Regions from separate parts of the Homo sapiens genome. Here region 2 is linked to region 1. Evidence: promoter capture Hi-C in 16 types of primary human blood cells and fetal thymus (Javierre and others, 2016). All regions are on one chromosome and are shown on one strand. The core of a region is centred on a gene start or on the middle of the fragment in contact, and the rest is flanking DNA. Distances in the headings are between cores, read along the strand shown. Region 1 holds the start of GLT1D1 (glycosyltransferase 1 domain containing 1). Region 2 overlaps GLT1D1 (glycosyltransferase 1 domain containing 1).

Evidence for each region. Contacts are between HindIII fragments. The CHiCAGO score rates a contact against its expected background, and 5 or more counts as called.
Region 2: a fragment that was not itself captured here is called in contact with the fragment with the promoter of GLT1D1 in region 1 in 1 of 17 cell types (neutrophils); the score reaches 6.2 in neutrophils.

What each region holds. Positions count from the first base shown.
Region 1 is chr12:128,847,826-128,854,808 of GRCh38, forward strand. GLT1D1 (glycosyltransferase 1 domain containing 1) reads left to right here and starts at 5,653. Exons shown (of 12, transcript NM_001366886.1): 1 at 5,653-5,824. The coding sequence starts at 5,757. It overlaps LOC100128276 (a long non-coding RNA gene), which reads right to left and starts at 5,270. Exons shown (of 3, transcript NR_148996.1): 1 at 5,251-5,270; 2 at 4,368-4,527; 3 at 1,346-1,635. It also overlaps the pseudogene LOC124903089. RefSeq lists silencers at 5,632-5,731, 5,922-6,121 and an enhancer at 5,983-6,634. The HindIII fragment of the contact is 7,589 bases long and covers 364-6,983 here.
Region 2 is chr12:128,888,286-128,895,002 of GRCh38, forward strand. GLT1D1 (glycosyltransferase 1 domain containing 1) reads left to right here. Exons shown (of 12, transcript NM_001366886.1): 3 at 354-459. Among named protein-coding and RNA genes, the nearest start is that of GLT1D1, 38 kb to the left of the region's middle. The HindIII fragment of the contact is 3,039 bases long and covers 53-3,091 here.

The sequences.
Region 1 (6,983 bases), core at 4,403-6,902:
TAATCTCAGCACTTTGGGAGGCTGAGGCGGGAGTTCGAGACCAGCCTGGCCAACACAGTGAAATGTGATCTCTACTAAAAATACAAAAATTAGCAGGGCATGGTGGCACAGCTACTCAGGACGCTGAGGCAGGAGAATCGCTTGAACCCAGGAGGTGGAGGTTGCAGTGAGCTGAGACTGTACCACTGCATTCCAGCCTGGGCATCTGAGTGAGATCTTGTCTCAAAAGGAAAAAAAAAAAAAAGAAAAGAAAAAAAATACCTAAGACTGGGTAGTTTTTAAAGAAAAGAGGTTGAATTGGCTTGCGATTCTGCAGGCTGTACAGGAAGCACTGCAGCTTCTGCTTCTGGGGAGGCCTCAGGAAGCTTCCAATCATGGCAGAAGGCAGATGGGCAGTGAGGCGTCTCACATGGTGGGAGCAGGAGCAAGAGAGTGCGGCGAGTTCACACTTGTAAACTACCAGAGCTGGTGAGAACTTGCTTACTCTCATGAAGACAGAACGAAGGGGATGGCACTAAACCACTCATGAGAAATCCACCCCCATGATCCAGCCACCTCCCACCAGGCCCCACCTCCAACACTGGGGGCTACAATTTCACATGAGATTTGGGCGAGGACACAGATCCAAACCCATATCAGGGGCCCACATTGGACGTAGTTTCAAGGTGGACCTGGGCAGGTGTTTCCAGATGAGATTTGCGTCCGTGAACTGAGTTGAGCAAGTGCGCTCCCCGGTGTGGCTGGGCTTCATCCAATCTGTTGAAGGTCTGAGTAGAGCGAAAAAGGTGGAGGAGGCTGGGTGCGGTGGCTCACGCCTGTAATCCCAGCACTTGGGAGGCGAGGAGGGTCTGCGGATCACTTGAGGTCAGGAGTTCGAGACTGCCCTGGCCAAAATGGCGAAGCCCCGTGTCTACTAAAAATGAAAAATTATCTGGGTATAGTGGTGTGTGCCTGTTATCCCAGCTACTCAGGAGGCTGAGGCAAGAGAATTGCTTGAACCCAGGAGGCGGAGTTTGCAGTGAGCGGAGATCCTACCACTGCACTCCAACCTGGGGGACAGAGTAAGACCCTGTTCTCAAGAAAAAAAGGAGGAGGAAAGAGGAATTTGCCCCCCCTTCCCCACCCCCCTCCATTTTCCCCACTGCCTCACTGCTTGAGCGGGCACATTTCATGTCATCTTCTCAGCAACCACCCCCACCATTCCCCCTCCTCCCTCAAACTGGGATTTACACCATTGCTCAGGCCTTCAGACTGGAACTGAATTACACCACCAGCTTTCCTGGTTCTCCGTATGGCAGACAGCAGATCAGGGTTCTTCTCAGCCTTCATGATTACATGAGCCAATGCCTCATAATAAATCTCCATTTACGAATATGAATTTCCCATTAGTTCTGTTTCCTTGGAGAACCCTGACTAATACAGGTATCTACTGGCATTTGGGGAAAAGCATTTTTTCTTTAGGCAGGGATGTCCTATACGTTGCAAGGTGTTAAAACTTCTGGGCCTAGTTGTGAAATATTGACGACATTCCTTAATCATTCTGACAACAAATTTCCTTCTCCATCCCCAAATTTCCAAAAGTCCTCTGGAGAGCAGTTCTGAATCTGGTTCAACCACTCATAAGCTGTAGAGAGACTAGAAAAGAGATAATCACAGAGTCAGGCAATTTTTACCTGCAAGATTTTAAAAAACAGAGTTTTTAAAGTTCTTCGTAGTTTCTTATATTACTGAATTCCTTCCTTCCTTTCATCCCTGCCTCCCTCCCCATCCCTCCTTCCTTCCTTTGTTCCTTTCTTTCTTCTTACTTTTATTACTTCTTTTGTATCATCAAGAATGAGTGTTGAATCCTACTGAATGTTCTTATTCCACCCATTGAGAGGGTCATATGTATTTCTGTTACCGGAAAGGGGTCCTATTTCAGACCCCAAGAGAAGGTTCTTGGATCTCACACAAGAAAGAATTCAGGGCGAGTCCATACAGTAAAGGGAAAGCAAGTTTATTAAGAAAGTAAAGGAATAAAGAATGGCTATTCCATAGACAGAGCAGCCCGAGGGCTGCTGGTTGCCCATTTTTATGGTGATTTCTTGATGATATGCTAAACAAGGGGTGGATTATTCATGCCTCCCCTGTTTAGACCATATAGGGTAACTTCCTGACGTTGCCATGGCATTCCTAAACTGTCATGGCGCTAGTGAGAGTGTAGCAGTTGAGGACAACCAGAGGTCACTTTCATTGCCATCTTGGTTTTGGTGGGTTTTGGCCGGCTTCTTTACTGCAAACTGTTTTATCAGCAAGATCTTTGTGGCCTGTATCTTGTACCGACCTCCTATCTCATCCTGTCACTTAGAATGCCTTAACCTCCTGGGAGGCAGCCCAGCGGGTCTCAGCCTCATTTTACCCAGCCCCTATTCAAGAGGGAGTTGCTCTGATTCAAATGCCTCTGCCATTTCCTCTTTTAATCTATTAATTTAGATTGCTATGGCAGAGGTGACTTACTGCAAACCTATTCTGCCACTTTTCTTTAGTAACCACGATTGTATTTAGGTGGCAGTGTACCCAGTTAATAGACCGCATGTCTTAGCCTCCTTGGATGCAAGAAATGGCCACGTGGCCAACACAATAAAGGCATAGGGCTGTTTGCATTTTTAGGAAGACACTTTAAAATAAAATACACCATCTGGAGTGCACCACTTTTGCCTTTCCTTCCTTCCTGCTGCCTGGAATGTTGATGTGATGGGTGGAGCTGTAGCAGTCCTACTCCTTATCAATTCCTTGATAAGGTGATCTTGAGACTAGAAGCTAAACACTAGCATGATGGAGTAGACAGAGGAAAGTCTGGGTTCCTGGTGATGGTACAGCCACTATATTAGGCTTGGGCCACCTTCTTCTGAACTTAATTTACGTAAAAATAAACTTCAAATTTTTTCTAAACACAAGAATACAGATCGAGGTTATCAAGGAATTGAAGTGAGCCTTCAAGCACTGTGTGAAATGGCACATTCAGATTTCATCTTAAGCAGGCAGCTGCTTCCCAGCTTCAGTCAGCCACAGGATGGTGGCTTCATTTAATCAGATCTCTCATTTTTTAACAGATATCAGAAATTCCAACTTCTATATGAAAGCTCCCAATTAAAAAATGGTGGCTTGGCCAGGTATAGTGGCTCACGCCTGTAATTCCAGTACTCTGGGAGGCTGAGGTGAGTTGACTGCTTGAGCCCAGGAGCTCAAGACCAGCCTGGACAACATAGTGAGACCCCACTTCTACAAAAAATACAAAAAATTAGCCCAGCATGGTGGTGCACATCTATGGTTCCAGCTACTTTTTTGGAAGGCTGAGATGGGAGGATCACTTGAGCCCAGGAGGTGGAAGCTGGAGTGATCCATAATCACACCACGGCACCCCCAGCCTGGATGACAGAGTGACACTGTCTCAAAACAAACAAAAAATAATAGCTCAGCTTTTATGAAAAACACGGTGTAGCCTAAATACATCTAAGGATGATATTGAGCCCACAAGGCTGCCAGTTCAACTCTCCTTAGGGAGGTTCCTTTCTGGGCTCATGCTGAAGTCGCCTTTGTAAAATCAGAAATGTATCTGTTCACATTTAGCTTTTAATATCCCATGGGCAAGGTGAAATAGGGGAAGATCATGGGCAAGTGCCCCCCTCTACTTCTGTATACCACACCAGACACTGCGTTTTATTGCCTCTTCTTGGTGTGTAGCAAATATATCAGGAGTCCACTCAAAACTTATTTATTTATTTAACACTGAGTCTTGCTTTACTGCCTAGGCTGGAGCGCAGTGGCATGATCGCGGCTCACTGCAACCTCCGCCTCCTGGGTTCAAATGATTCTCATGCCTCAGCCTCCCAAGTACCTAGGACTACAGGCTTGTACCACCATGCCCATCTATTTTTCTATTTTTGGTAGAGACGGGGTTTTGCCATGTTGGCCAGACTGGTCTTGAACTCCTGGCCTCAAGTGATCCACCCACCTCGGCCTCCCAAAGTGCTGGAATTATAGGAGTCAGCCGCCGTGCCCGGGGTCAAAACTCTTTTTCTAAAATGTCGTTAGAAGGGGGTTGTGACAGCTCTGTGCAACTTGTCCCCTTTCCTGTTTGCTTATGTAATTCTGTTGGAAAGTATTAAGTTGTTTAGCAGAATGATAATATTTTCAGATCGCTTTTGTCCTTTAAAAAGGATGTGGCCTGCCTGCCTGGTGCCTGGGAAGCTGAAATACCAGGAAGAAGAGCAAAATCCTGGGTGTTTTTTTGAGAGTGAGAGGAGGACAGGATTTTGATTGTTCTACAATGATATACAACTCTTCCCTACTCCATGCCACACTGAGAGGCAGAGTGGTGGACGTACCTGGGAGAAGCCTGCGGAGCCGAATGTGCCCTCCAGGATGGACTTTTATATCTTGATAAGCCTGGGGGTCACCATGCTGCGTAGGGAGGCCGGAGACCTGCCACTGACGGTGGTTATCCCATGTCATGGCTTTCTTCATTCCCACTTTACCTTTTTGAGGCTGGAAGGTATTTAGGGGATGACAGAAAATCAAGTTTGAAGGTCAATGGAAATATTGGGCACCCACTAGAATGTCCCACATCTGTAAATACATGTGCATCTTTGTAAACACTTAACAGCTGTTTTGGGGAGTGCTTGTTTAAATCCACAGATGGCATTTTGCCAGAGGCCTCCTTCAGTTCCCTATTTCTCTCACTCAAGGTATCCTAGTTTGGAGATCCAGACCAGGTGCAGCCCATGTACCCTGATGAACCCCAGGTTCCCCTCTCCAACATCTTTCTCACCCGACAGGTGCGGCCCTGAAATGGGTTTCTACTGTCTCCTCACACAGTCCCCATGTTCCCCTCCTCGGGTTAGTTTTAGGGTAGTCTAGCCTGGGAAGGAATTTGGGACTGATCATGCCACGTTCCCTGGAATGGGACTAGAAAGGAATCCTGGGCTTCGTGCGGACCAAGGCCCCACTCAGGTTGTCATGGAAAATGAGGCTGAGAGCCCCTCTCTGCAGCACCCTGTGGGACGGAACCCGAGGTCTCTGCTGGTCCCGGTGGGCACAGACCTGCAGCCAACCCGGTGTTCCGTGAAGCCCTGATTTCCCAATGAAGCCCATGGAAGCCATCACTGGTTTCCATGGGAGCGGACCATGGCCACCCCTGCTCCTGTTCCCTGTGGGAAAGGACCAAGGCCGCCCCTGGTCCTGGTCACTGTGGGAAGGGACTGTGGTCACCGCTGGTCCTGGTCCCCTTGGGAGGGACTGTGGTCACCGCTGGTCCTGGTCCCCGTGAGAATGGTCTGTGGTCACCGCTGCCTGTTCCCTGTGGAAGGGAACGTGGTCACTGCTGGTCCTAGTCCTCTTGGGAGGGACTGTGGTCACCGCTGGTCCTGGTCCCCGTGTGAGGGACTGTGGTCACCGATGGTCCTGGTCCCCGTGGAAGGGACTGTGGTCACCGCTGGTCCTGGTCCAGGTGGAAACAGACCGCGGCTACCCTGGTGATGGACCCCACGGGGCACACCCGCGCCACCCCGCACCCAGGGCTCGCGCCGCCCGAGGCCCCCGGTTCCTGTCCCCCTCCCCGCCTGGCGCCGGAACCTGCGAGCTGGGGCGCGGCCTCGGGGAGGGGCGGGCGGGACAGACCCAGCCGCCCCGGCTCCCCCGCCGTCCGCGTCTGCGCCGGCCCCGGGGCCTGGTCGGCGGCGGCGGGGCCGGTCGATGGCCCGGGCGGCGGCGGCGGCATGCGGCTCCTGTTCCTGGCGGTGCTGCGGCCACACACCGGCAACGCGGTCACGGCCCAGCGCGTTCGGTAGGTGCAGGGCGCCGGGGCCTACGAAGCCTGGGCCGGGGGCCGGGGGGCGGGGACGCGGGACCCGGGGACGCGGGGCGCTCAGCCAGGCCCCCTCCAGCCGCGCCGGGGCCGTCCCGAGCCGCGCGCACAAACGGATGGGCCGGTGCCGCCTGCCGGGCGCGCGGGGGTCGGTGCCTTCTGCGTGGCGCGCGTGTCCCCGGGTCTCCGTGCGGCCGGCGCATTGGCCTCGCGCTCTCCGGAGGGGACTGAGCAGGTGAACAGGCCCGGAGCCTGTCGTGGAGGGGCCCGGGAAGGCCTCGCTGCAGAAGCAGGATGGGAGCAGGATCCGCAGGGATGCGCAGCGGGGTCCGCGGAGCTCCCGGCGGGGGCGCGTTTCCAGGCCGGGGACCGCGGTGCCAGCCCTGCCCTCGCGGATCGGGTCTCGGCTGTGTGCCGGCGTCCGGGGTCCTGTCCCCGAAGTCCCTTTCCCACCTCCCCTCTGCCCTGTCTATTCTCGTCTTCCTGGCTGGTTAGCTCCTTCACACTCATCTTTTTCTGCCTTTGTCTTATTTGTTTACTTGTTGGTCTGTGTTCTGGTCGCTGGAACGCAAGCCCGGCGGGGGCCCGGGGAGGGGCCGCCGCGTTAATCCCGCCGCCTCCCACCCGCACAGCGGGCGCTCGGCCTGTATTAGCCGGATAAACATATTCCTTGAGGCGAAGCCTGGGAAGTGCCAGGATTAGAGCCTGCAGCTTAACAGAAGCCGTGTGTGTGTGTGTGTGTGTGTGTGTGTGTGTGTGTGTGTGTGTAAAAGCGGACTTGCTTCATGAAATTTCCCGATTTACTTCCCTTCTGTGGGCCTGTTTCCCCATCAATTTATTTTTTTGAAATGGAGTCTCGCTGTGTCACCCAGGCTGGAGTGCAGTGGCGCAATCTGGGCTCACTGCAACCTCCGCCTCCTGGATTCAAGCATTCTCCTGCCTCAGCCTCCCAAGTAGTTGGGATTACAGGTGTGCACCACCACGCCCGGCTGATTTTTGTATTTTTAATAGAGACAGGGTTTCACCATGTTGGCCAGGTTGGTCTCGAACTCCTGCCCTCAGGTGATCCGCCTGCCTCGGCCTCCCACAGTGCTGGGTTTACAGGTATGAGCCACTGTGCCCGGCCTCCTCATCATTA
Region 2 (6,717 bases), core at 322-2,821, 36 kb after region 1:
TTTTGTCATGAATTTTGATGATGGCAGATTAGCCCATTTCCTAGGAATGATAAGCTTGGCTTTGATTGATAGATGAGGCTAACAATATTTTTTATTTGCTAAAGTTTAAAATGAATTAATTGAAAGATAGCCCTGACGACAGTGGTTGGGGCCTCCCGTGATTCCTCTTGGTGTTGTGTTTATTGTAGTGATACCTATTCTGCTATCCAGGAGAGGTGGATGCAGCTAAATGTACAGCAACAAACAGCTCCGGCGATCTGGGAACTTCAGTGTTTAAGATCCTTGCTTGGGAATGGTTGGTGAAGGCTGTTTTTAGGGCTAAATTCTGCTTTGTGACTGTCATCGTTTTGCAGGCCACCGAATCCCTTTTGGAGTCATCTTTGGTGGAACTGATGTAAATGAAGATGCCAACCAGGCGGAAAAAAACACAGTCATGGGCAGAGTTCTTGAGGAAGCCAGGTAATACCTGCGAGAATTTCATCCATGCCAAACATTTAAACTGTGTGAATTGAATTAATTGAAACCAAAGACCGAGGGCACCAATTGCCGGGAAGGTTTACATCTTAGCACTTAAAACCAATTTCATGTAACCTTTTCTTTCATTTGGTACATTTTTATTTGGCCACAAATAGTCATTGCTAACAGGTTATTGCACTTAAGTCTTCAACTACAGTTAATATTAGATAAGCCTCTTTAGAATGGTCTGCATGGAGCCAGGCATAGTGAGGCACGCCTGTGGTCCCAGCTGCTTGGGAGGCTGAGGCAGGAGGATTGCTGGAGCCCAGGAGCCCAAGGCTACAGTGTGCTATGGTTGCAATCCAGCCTGAGTGGTAGAGCAAAGCCCTCTTTTCAAAAAAACAAGTGTTCTGGATGTAGAAAACACGAATCACAGGCAAACTCCAGCCTTAGCAGCACACAAATTAGGATCTAGTTTGCATCAGGTTTGCCCAAGTAGACTATCTTTGGCATGGGTCTTATCTATGTAGCTTTCTGAGCTATATATGCCATTTGCAAGAAGGGTCACCAACAGGATTTCTAAACTGTGGCTTAGGCCTTTTCCTTGGGTATGGCCCTCTAGCTGTCCCAGGGACCTGAGAGGTAGCTGCTGTGAGAACAGCTCTACATGCTCTAAGTGGGGCTTCTTACAGGGGTCACTGTGATAATCCTGGGGGCTGCCCTGCACGTCTCTGATCCCAGATACTGATCATGGGCAGCAGCCTCCAGGTACCACAACTACCTTAGTATGTCTCCCTATAATTCTAATGCCCCCAGGGTGGGGGAAGTTATTATCCCCAGTTGAGAATTCCTTCCAGCGCTGTACTTCCCAACTTTTCCATGTCAATACGGTGAAAGGAGGTTCATCGGAGGCTGTTGTTCTGGACCAGCCCCCGCACTGTCCCCCAGCGGACTAGCCCAAGACAGAAAGGAGTCACTTGTGCTGAGCGCTATGTAATCAAACTGAACTTTGAAATGGGTCAGCCTTCTTTCTCTCTTCTCTTCTCTTTTCCTGACAGAGTCTCATTCCGTTGCCCAGGCTGGAGCGCAATGGCGCGATCTTGGCTCACTGCAACCTCAGCCTCCCGGGTTCAGGCGATTCTTGTGCCTCAGGCTCCCGAGTAACTGGGATTATGGGCGCCTGCCACCACAGTCGGCTAATTTTTGTATTTTTAGTAGAGACGGGGTTTCACCATTTTGCCAGGCTGGTCTCAAACTCCTGGCCTCAAGCGATCCACCTGCCTCGGCCTCCCAAAGTGCTGGGATTACGGGCATGAGATACCGTGCCCAGCCTGAAATGGGCCAGTTTTCTAAAAGGCAAGAAATTCCAGGCAACTTCAGTCAGCAGAATAGGGAAGTCTTCTCTGCTTTAACCCTGTAGGGAAAGTAACTCTGAAATGCCCCATCTGCTTTTTGTTTCCTGTGTCTGCTTTCTTCAGCCCTTGTCTGTCTGTAAAACACGCCTTCTCTGCGCAGCTCATCAGAACACTCATTCTGTTTTGTAGAATGAGGTGCTGCCCAATTCTAGAATTGCTGATAAAGGCCCATTATAATCTTTGAACTCAATTTGTTGTCATTGTGTCTTTTGACAAGGCATACTTAGAAAATTATCATATTTGTATAGCAATTTAAAGTGGATTAAAAGCCTTGATTAAAAAAATCACTCCCATTTCTTTGTCTAACGAATAACAATAATAAGAATTAAAATAATGATAAAATCAGGCCGGGCACGGTGACTCAGGCCTGTAATCCCAGCACTTTGGGAGGCCTGAGGCAGGTGGATCACTTGAGGTCAGGAGTTCGAGACCAGCCTGGCCAACACGGAGAAACCCCATCTCTATTAAAAATACAAAAATTAGCTGGGTGTGGTGGTGGGTACCTGTAATTCCGGCTACTTGGGAGGCTGAGGCAGAAGAATCACTTTAACCCAGGAGGTGGCCAGGTGCGGTGGCTCACACATGTAATCCCAGCATTTTGGGAGACTGAGGCAGGTGGATCACCTGAGGTCAGGAGTTCGAGACCAGCCTGGACAACAGGGTGAAACTCCATCTCTACTAAAAATACAAAAATTAGCCGGACATGGTGGCCTGTGCCTGTAGTTCCAGCTACTTGAGAGGCTGAGGCAGAAGACTTGCTTGAACTCGGGAGGCAGAGGTTGCAGTGAGCTGAGATCGTGCCATTGCACTCCAGCCTGGGAGACAGAGCATGACTCCATCTCAAAAACAAACAACAGCAACAACAACAAAAGAACCCGGGAGGTGTTGGTTGCAGTAAGCAAGATGTTGCCATTGCACTCTAGCCTGGGTGACAGAGCGACACTGTCTCAAAAAAAAAAAAATTTAATTAATTAAAAAAATAAAAAATTAAATAAAATAATGATAAAAGCAATATGAATCTTCCATGATCATATGAAAATTGTGAAAAAAAGCGGAAATTAAATCAAAAGAACTACCTATACATGCATACCCAAAACAAAGAACTTTTCTGATCAGTCATGAGGTGCTCAGTGGGCTTCCTCGGGGTTTGGCTGGACAGTCAAGGGGGTTCTGTGCAGTTTGTCCTCCCACATGTTCACTGGCTGCTGGTGTTAGAAGAAAGCTTCACCTGTGTCTAGAATAACCCTGAAACCACAGTTTACAGTTGGTCCAACAAGTACTGCCTAACTATCCCTTCGACCCTTTTAAATCTTTGAATCATTGTAGAGAACAAAACAAAGCAAAACTGGTAATTGATTTTATCCCAATAAATCACCAGCCATTAATTTTCTGTGGCTCACCTCATGGCTGGGAAGCTCTGGCCAGGGAATTTGGGACACTTCAAGTCTTTATGTAGCTGGATCACCCTATTCCATACAGGGGACAGCATTCAAAGTTCTGTCGGGAGCCTCAGATTCCTTGTTTGGTAATGTAGGTGTCAGTCTCGCTTCTGAAAACCAGGGTTACTGAGAGGTATCACTGCATTTAGGACCCTAGTCCTTCCTGAGGACCCCGATCGTATGTTGTGGCAATGCAAATGTGGACCCAAAAAACCTGAGACAGGTCTCAGTTACTATTTAGAAAGTTTATTTTGCCAACGTTGAAGACACGCACTCATGACCCAGCCTCAAGAGGTCCTGATGACACGTGCCCAAGGTGGTCAGGCACAGGTTGGTTTTCTACATCTTAGGGAGATGTGAGACATCAATCAATATATGTAGGAGGTACACTGGTTCGGTCTGGAAAGGCGGGACAACTGGAAGCGAGGCAGGAAGACTCAAAGCAGGGAGGGGTTTTCCAGGTCACTGGTAGGTGACAGACAAAAGGTCGCATTCTTTTGCATTTCTGATTGGCCTTTCCCAAGGAAGCAATCAGATATACATTTATCTCAGTGAGCAGAGGGGTGACTTTGAATAGAATGGGAGGGAGGTTTGCCCTTAGCAGTTCCCAGCTTGACTTTTCCCTTTAGCTTTGTGATTTGGGGGCCCAAGATATTTTCCTTTCACACCACCTTATCATAATAGAGAGCACACGTGTGAGTGTGCATGTGTGTGCGTGTGTGTGTTACAATAAAAAAAGACATTAAAACACGTTGGGGTTACCTTGAAAGGGGATCTTTTATTACAGGTTTTCTTATTGCTGTTGTTCTTTCACTCTGCAAATTCATTACCTTTAGATTCCTGTAGTTGGTAATGCACTGCCTTACGGAAGAAAAACAATTCTGTTTACTAGAAACAACATTGAATGAATCCATCTTACAGTATTATTATTAGTATTATTTATTTCATTGTTATTAAAGCAAACACGGATTTCTATTTTGGGGGGTTATTGATCGAGGTTAGTGGGCAGGAAAGCTGCATGGATCAGATTCTTTGTCCAGTACAACATAGCACACGTTTCTGTAAAAGAAAGTATTGAACTTGTCTAGCTTTATAATGAGTATTTCATTTTTAATCAAATGTTTTTAAATAGTTATATTTTTCCTATAGGGTCTATTTTTGAAGTTTTTTTAGTATTTAAATTTTTTTTCTATATTATATAGTATTCAAACTTACCTTAGCTTCAGCTTTTTGGCTTATAAATATTATAATGTAATAAGTACTTGATAATTACATTATCAATATCAAAACTAAATGAAGAGTATGTGAAACCTATGGAAATTATTTGGTGAAGGATCATCCAGGTACATATTAGAAGAAAATATTCTTGGCCAGGCATGATGGCTAATGCCTGTAATCCCAGCACTTTGAGAGGCCGAAGCGGGTGGATCACTGAGGTCAGGAGTTTGAGACCAGCCTGGCCAACATGGGGAAACTCCGTCTTCACTAAAAATACAAAAATTAGCTGGGCATGGTGACACATGCCTGTAATCCCAGCTACTCAGGAGGCTGAGGCAAGAGAATCGCTTGAACCTGAGAGGCAGAGGTTGAAGTGAGCTGAGATCTCGCCATTGCACTGCAGCCTGGGTGAAAGAGGGAGACTCTGTCTCAAAAACAAAAGAAAGAAAAGAAAAAATTATCGTCAAGCAAATGAGCAAAAGAGAGTTTGTATAAAATGAAACACCTCAAAAATAGCCTCATAAATAGGAAATCTATAGCACACGATAGGTTAAACGAGGTGAATTTGCTGTTTTGTAGGCATAAAATGGCTGAATATTGGTAGTTTCATAAGTTTTAAGCTATAGATATTTAAGCCCAAAGATTTTTTTTACAAAAAAAATCACATGTGAAAGTGAGTAAATCTATTTCAAAATGGCAATGTTCAACTAAAAATGCAAAAATGGTAGCTTTATATTTTTCATAAGAAATGTGGTTTTTTAATTTAATTGAATTTTATTGTTTTTTTTTGGACACAGAGTCTTACTCTGTCGCCCAGGCTGGAGTGCAGTGGTGCAGTCTGAGCTCACTGCAACTTCCACCTCCTGGGTTCAGGCGATTCACCTGCCTCAGCCTCGTCAGTAGCTGGGACTACAGGGGTGCACCACCACGCCTGGCTAATTTTTGTATTTTTAGTGAAGATGGAGTTTCTCTGTGTTGGCCAGGCTGGTCTCGAACTCCTGACCACAGTGATCCACCTTCCTCGGCCTCCCAAAGTGTTGGGATTACAGGTGTGAGCCATCACGCCCCACTAATTGTTCAATTCTTAAGTTTCTCAGTTTTGAAGTTTCCCAGCAAAGGAAGGTTTACACACTCTCCTGAAGGGCCCATTGTCAGGCAATTGTTATTTAGCTACTTTTCTTTCTTTTTTATCTTATTTTCACAGGATAAAGTCTATTCCCCCAGATACAGTTTCCTTGCACCTCTTGTTAGTTTTCAGAGCAAATGGAGAGCTTCTCATAACTGAGGCCAGCAGAACAACCCATGCTGGGCTCGAGCCTCCTTCCGCGTCAGCACTGTATGGTGCTTGGATTATGAAAGTGGGCCTTGGTGGGAAGTCCAGCGTGAGATCCTCTCCGTCCGTCTTTCCTTACTTTTCCCTTCAGTAGGGGACCTGTGATGGAATGTGCCTCGACTGGTGACAGGGTTTTAGAGGAGGCAGAAAGGAAAGCTCGGGGCAGGCACAGACAGGGGAAGTGGGGCCTTCTGGAGGAAGAATCTGCCATTTTTGGGTCCTGCTGCAGGGAAGGAATCATCCTTTCCTGGTTCTCATCTGCAGTAATTATTCCTGTGGTGTTTGCCTGATGGTGATTTTTCCATTTGCACTGCGTCTTGTTTATTAACTGGAATTCTACCTTACGGAAGACTTTCCTCTTTGATCCCATTTACTTATTTGATTATTTATTTGTTATTCAGTATGGACTCGTGGGGGCCGGGCATGGTGGCTCATGGCTGTAATCCCAGCACTTTGGGAGGCTGAGTTGGGTGGATCACTTGAGGCCAGGAGTTCGAGACCAGCCTGGCCAACATGGTGAACCCTCATCTCTACTAAAAATACAGAAAAAAAAATTAGCCGAGCATGGTGGTGCGTGCCTGTAATCCTAGCTACTCAGGAGGCTGAGGCAGGAGAGTTGCTTGAACCCAGGAGGCGGAGGTTACAGTGAGCTGAGACTGTGCCACTGCACTCCAACCTGGGTAACAGAGCAAGACTCCATCTCAAAATAAATAATAAATAAATATATTAAAAATTATATATATATATATAACATGGACTCATAGATATTTATTTTATTTCCCTTTACAGATTATCTGTTACTATTTTTGTTTATTCGGTTGCTCAAATTGCCCCAGATTTGCCCACAGGAGATGCT